2 separate regions of the Homo sapiens genome follow, and region 1 is linked to region 2. The links are contacts of gene promoters, found by promoter capture Hi-C in blood cells and fetal thymus (Javierre and others, 2016). All regions are on one chromosome and are shown on one strand. The core of a region is centred on a gene start or on the middle of the fragment in contact, and the rest is flanking DNA. Distances in the headings are between cores, read along the strand shown.

The links. The method cuts DNA at HindIII sites, captures the fragments that hold promoters and counts their contacts. A CHiCAGO score of 5 or more calls a contact.
Region 1: a contact is called between the fragment with the promoter of ASPRV1 here and a fragment that was not itself captured in region 2, in 6 of 17 cell types (total CD8 T cells, naive CD8 T cells, total CD4 T cells and 3 more). The highest score is 9.7, in total CD8 T cells.

The regions. Positions count from the first base shown.
Region 1 is chr2:69,960,229-69,962,928 of GRCh38, reverse strand. ASPRV1 (aspartic peptidase retroviral like 1) reads left to right here and starts at 1,298. Exons shown (of 1, transcript NM_152792.4): 1 at 1,298-2,700. The coding sequence starts at 1,493. The coding sequence ends at 2,272. PCBP1-AS1 (PCBP1 antisense RNA 1) reads left to right here. Exons shown (of 11, transcript NR_033872.1): 11 at 1-666. RefSeq lists a silencer at 1,118-1,412. The HindIII fragment of the contact is 12,271 bases long and covers 1-2,700 here.
Region 2 is chr2:70,161,568-70,164,267 of GRCh38, reverse strand. The region is part of intron 8 of C2orf42 (chromosome 2 open reading frame 42); the gene reads left to right. Among named protein-coding and RNA genes, the nearest start is that of C2orf42, 28 kb to the left of the region's middle. The HindIII fragment of the contact is 4,638 bases long and covers 1-2,700 here.

The DNA of each region.
Region 1 (2,700 bases), core at 49-2,548, 200 kb after region 2:
ACAGCACACAGCTAGGCCTGGAGCCCAGCAAAGAGCCCCTGGGTCCCAGAGGAAGTTGTTCTGGGGGCTGGAGACAATCACAAATGCCAGGTTTGTGAGCCCCAGACTCTGGTTCATAGCAAGAGGCAGACTTGTGAACAAACCACCAGATCACACCGTAAAACACGCTCAACGAGGAGTGGGTGCCCTTTCTAGGGACAGGCAGAAGGCTCCATGGAGTGACCTTTGAATGGGGACATAAAAGTGGATCCCTTCAACAGCCCCTGCACAGCCCCAAGTCAGGCCTCCAGCCCTTGGACTCACAGATGTCCTCTGTAGACGACTGGATGTCCTCCCGTGCTACCCTTTACCCCTGCAGCGAGGGGCACAGAGCCAGAGCCCTCCAGGTCCTCACCACTGGCATCACCAACATAGTGGACATTTTCCCTCTCAGAATGAAAAGGGAGTGAAATTTCCCGTGATCTTTCCACAAATGACCAGCTTGGGGAGTGGGAGAGGAAGTGCTGCAGTGCCTGGGGAAGGGGCCCTGGAACAGTTCCTGGAAATGGAGAGGGGTGGATAGGGTGGAGACAATGCTCATGGAGTGCAGTATGGGGCCTACCCAGAGTTGCTTGGCCACCCCTCTGCCTCTGAATCAGGGGTGATCAATGAAGGAAAATTACTGCAGCAGTTGAGTCCATGTAAGATGATTGTGCACGTGTGTGTGTGTGTGTGTGTGTGTGTGTGTGTCCTCACTCACTTAAAAAAGACCATTTCTGTGCATTCTTTATGCTGGAACCCTCCTCTGCCTCCCTCTCCAGGAAATCCCATAGGATCCCATACCTGCTTTAGAATGTGTGTGAGACACTTCCCAGTGCCTGGCATGTGGTAGGAGCTCAGTACATGTAAACTGTTTTCCTTTGACCACTCAAAGTAGTCACTTGTTGGGGAGGCCAATGGCGGCTTCCCCGGTCTCTGAGCTGATGGGCGTCTGGTCCCTGCCTCCCCTTCCTTCACTGGCTGATGACAAATACCTGAATGTCATCACATCCTCCGTGTCCTCATCTGTTATTCTGGAACACAGGCCAGGGAGGGTACAGGGTAGTCCCCCTTCAACAGAGGCTGGCCTTTCTTGGGATGTGGGCTGGCTGGTGTTGGTCCAAGGATGGATGCAGAGGGTGAGGCACCCATCCTGCTAGTCCGGCCGGATGCTGGCAGGAGGGCGGGGTGAGGAGGGGCGGAGCTTCCAGAACAAAGGAGAATGGGGAGCCCAGGGGCCAGCCTAGGCATCAAAAAGGCTCTGCAGAGTGAACAGGCCACAGCACTGCCTGCCTCTGCCCCAGCAGTCAGCCAGCCGACCGCGCCTGCTCCCTCCTGCTTGCCCAAGGCCGGGCAAGTCATCCCCACTCTGCTTCGAGAGGCCCCGTTTTCCAGCGTGATTGCGCCGACACTGCTCTGTGGGTTTCTCTTCTTGGCGTGGGTTGCTGCTGAGGTTCCAGAGGAGAGCAGCAGGATGGCCGGGAGCGGAGCCAGGAGTGAGGAAGGCCGCCGGCAGCATGCCTTCGTCCCGGAACCTTTTGATGGGGCCAATGTCGTCCCAAACCTCTGGCTGCACAGCTTTGAAGTCATCAATGACCTCAACCATTGGGACCATATCACCAAGCTAAGGTTCCTGAAAGAGTCCCTCAGAGGAGAGGCCCTGGGTGTCTACAATAGGCTCAGTCCCCAGGACCAGGGAGACTATGGGACTGTGAAAGAGGCCCTCCTGAAGGCCTTTGGGGTCCCTGGGGCTGCCCCCAGCCACCTGCCCAAAGAGATCGTCTTTGCCAACAGCATGGGTAAGGGCTACTATCTCAAGGGGAAGATTGGCAAAGTGCCCGTGAGGTTCCTGGTGGACTCTGGGGCCCAGGTCTCTGTGGTCCACCCAAACTTGTGGGAGGAGGTCACTGATGGCGATCTGGACACCCTGCAGCCCTTTGAGAATGTGGTAAAGGTGGCCAATGGTGCTGAAATGAAGATCCTGGGTGTCTGGGATACAGCGGTGTCCCTAGGCAAGCTGAAGCTGAAGGCACAGTTCCTAGTGGCCAATGCGAGTGCCGAGGAAGCCATCATTGGCACTGATGTGCTCCAGGACCACAATGCTATCCTGGACTTTGAGCACCGCACATGCACCCTGAAAGGGAAGAAGTTTCGCCTTCTGCCTGTGGGAGGGTCCCTGGAAGATGAGTTTGACCTGGAGCTCATAGAGGAGGACCCCTCCTCAGAAGAAGGGCGGCAGGAGCTATCCCACTGAGAAGCCACCTTTTCTTTAACCTCCTAAATATTGGTGGGAAGACCCACCGCTGTGGGGGGGGTTGCATATCCTCATGGGGGTCACTGGGCTTGGCCAGTCTGCTTATCAACTCTTGCTCTTCTCTCCCCTTTGCCTCCCTCTGCAGGGGCCTTAATCTGCCCCTGGTAGGGGAGGCTTCCACTGAACAGGCACAGGTGAGGGAGAGCAGGCTGGCTTAGAGGGACAGGGTCCCCATGGTCATCAAGCTGCTGTTGATGACAAAGACTCAAAGGCTGGAAGAGCTCCCAAGGAAGCTAGAAATGCTTGTCTTTGAAAGAACTGTGGGACCCCTTCAGATTCCCTGAGGTATGGCTTGGTCACTCTCAGGTCCTCAAAGCCTGTCTTAGTTGGGCTGGGTCCTAGCTGCAGGGTCTTTGTGAGGGTCACAG
Region 2 (2,700 bases), core at 147-2,646:
TACAGTGGTGCAGTCACGGCTCACTCTACCTCCACCTCTTGGGATCAAGTGATCCTCCCACCTCAGCCTCCTGAGTAGCTTGGACTACAGGCATATGCCACCATGCCCAGCTAATTTTTGTAGAGATGGGGTTTCCCCATGTTGCCCAGGCTGGTCTCAAATTCCTGGACTCGAGCAATCTGTCTGCCGCAGTCTCCCAAAGTGCTGGGATTACAGGCATGAGCCACCAGGCCCACCCTATTAATTAAAAAAAAAAAAAAATTTAAGATAGGGTCTTGCTATGTTGCCCAGGCTGGTCTCAAATTCCTGGGTTCAAGCAGTCCTCCCATCTTGGCCTCCCAAAGTACTGTGATTACAGGTGTAATCTGCCTCTTCCAGCCACACTAGACATTTTATGTTTTTATTTTTATTTTTTGGAGACAGAGTCTCTTGCTCTGTTGCCCAGGCTGCAGTGCAGTGGCACGATCTCGGCTCACTGTAACCTCCACCTCCCAGGTTCAAGCAGTTCTCATGCCTCAACCTCCTGAGTAGCTGGGACTATAGGCACGCACCATCATGCCTGGCTAATTTTTGTATTTTTAGTAGAGACAGGGTTTTGCCATGTTGGCCAGGCTGGTCTCAAGCTCCTGATCTCAAGTGATCCGCCCACCTTGGCTTCCCAAAGTGCATGGATTACAGGCGTGAGCCCCTGTGCCTGTCTTACACATTTTAAAATGTTTTTCGGGCTGGGTGCGGTGGCTCACGCCTGTAATCACAGCACTTTGGGAGGCCGAGGCGGGTGGATCACGAGGTCAGGAGATCGAGACCATCCTGGCTAACACAGTGAAACCCCGTCTCTACTAAAAATACAAAAAAATTAGCCGGGCATGGTGGCAGGCTCCTGTAGTCCCAGCTACTCGGGAGGCTGAGTCAGGAGAATGGTGTGAACCCGGGAGGCGGAGCTTGCAGTGAGCCGAGATCGCACCACTGCACTCCAGCCTGGGCGACAGAGCAAGACGCTGTCTCAAAAAATATATATGTATGTATGTTTTTCAAGTAGATCCTGAAAATCTGAGATGGAGTTTTTTTTCCTACAGTAATAGAATTATGTAGAAAATTCAGGCCGCGCACGGTGGCTCACACCTGTAATCTCAGCACTTTGGGAGGCTAAGGCAGGTGGATCACCTGAGGTCAGGAGTTTGAGACCAGCCTGGCCAACATGGTGAAACCCCGTCACAACTAAAAATACAAAAATTATCCAGGCATGGTGGCAGGCACCTGTAATCCCAGCTACTTGGGAGGCTGAGGCAGGAGAATCGCTTGAACCCGGGAGGCGGAGGTTGCAGTGAGCTGAGGTTGCGCCATTGCACTCCAGCCTGGGGGACAAGATCGAGACTTCGTCTCCAAAAAAGTAGAAAATTCAGCATAATGTGATTTGATACATTAAGAGTAGCTTAATTGCAAGGCATTCTTCTGTTCAGGAAAAAAAAATAAGTTGTTTGATAGCTACAGAATTTACATGTGAGCCAGGCATGGTGGCTATAATACCAGCGATTTAGGAGGCTGAGATGAAGGATTGCTTGAGGCCAGGAGTTCAAGACCAGCCTAGGCAACACAGCGAGGCCCCTACTATTTTTTTTTTGTTTGAGACAGAGTCTCACTCTGTTGTCTAGGCTGGAATGCAGGGCACAATCTTGGCTCACTGCAGCCTCTGCCTCCCAGGTTCAAGCAATTCTCCCACCTCAGCCTCCCGAGTAGCTGGGATTACAAGCGCACCATCCTGCCCAGCTAATTTGTATTTTTAGTAGAGACAGGCTTTCACCATGTTGACCAGGCTGGTCCCAAGCTCCTGACCTCAGGTGATCCACCCTCCTTGGCTTCCCAAAGTGCTGGGATTACAGGCGTGAGCCAGTGCGCCAGGCCAGCAAAGGCCCCTACTCTTAAAAAAATAAAAAGAAAGAAAGAAAGAAAGCAAAAGAGGCTGGCGAGGTGGCTCATGCCTGTAATCCCAGCACTTTGGGAGGCCAAGGTGGGCAGATCACCTGAGGTCAGGGGTTTGAGACCAGCTTCGCCAACATGGTGAAAACCCGTCTCTACTAGAATACAAAAATTAGCCGGGCGTGGTGGCTTGCTCCTGTAATCCCAGCTACTCGGGAGGCTGAGGCAGGAGAATCACTTGAACCTGGGAGGCGGAGGTTGCAGTGAACTGAGATCGTGCCACTGCATTCTAGCCTGGGTGACAGAGCTAGACTCCATCTCCAAAAAAAAAGAAAAAAAGAAAAAGTGAGGCCTGGTGGTGTGTGCCTATAGTCCCAACCACTAAGAAAGCTGAAGCAAGAGGATCACTTGAGCCTGGGAGTTGGAGGCTACAGTGAGCCATGATTGTGCCACTGTACTCCAGCAGGGGCAACCAAGTGAGACCTTGACTCTTTTTTTTTTTTTTTTTTTGACACGGACTTTCACTCTTGTGGCCCAGTCTGGAGTGCAATCATGTGATCTTGGCTCACCTCAACCTCCACCTCCCAGGTTCAAGCGATTCTCCTGCCTCAGCCTTCTGAGTAGCTGGGATTACAGGCGTCTGCCACCACGCCTGGCTAATTTTGTATTTTTAGTAGAGATGAGGTTTCTCCATGTTGGTCAGGCTGGTCTCAAACTCCCGACCTCAGGTGATCCGCCTACCTCAGCCTCCCAAAGTTCTGGGATTACAGGCGTGAGCCACCA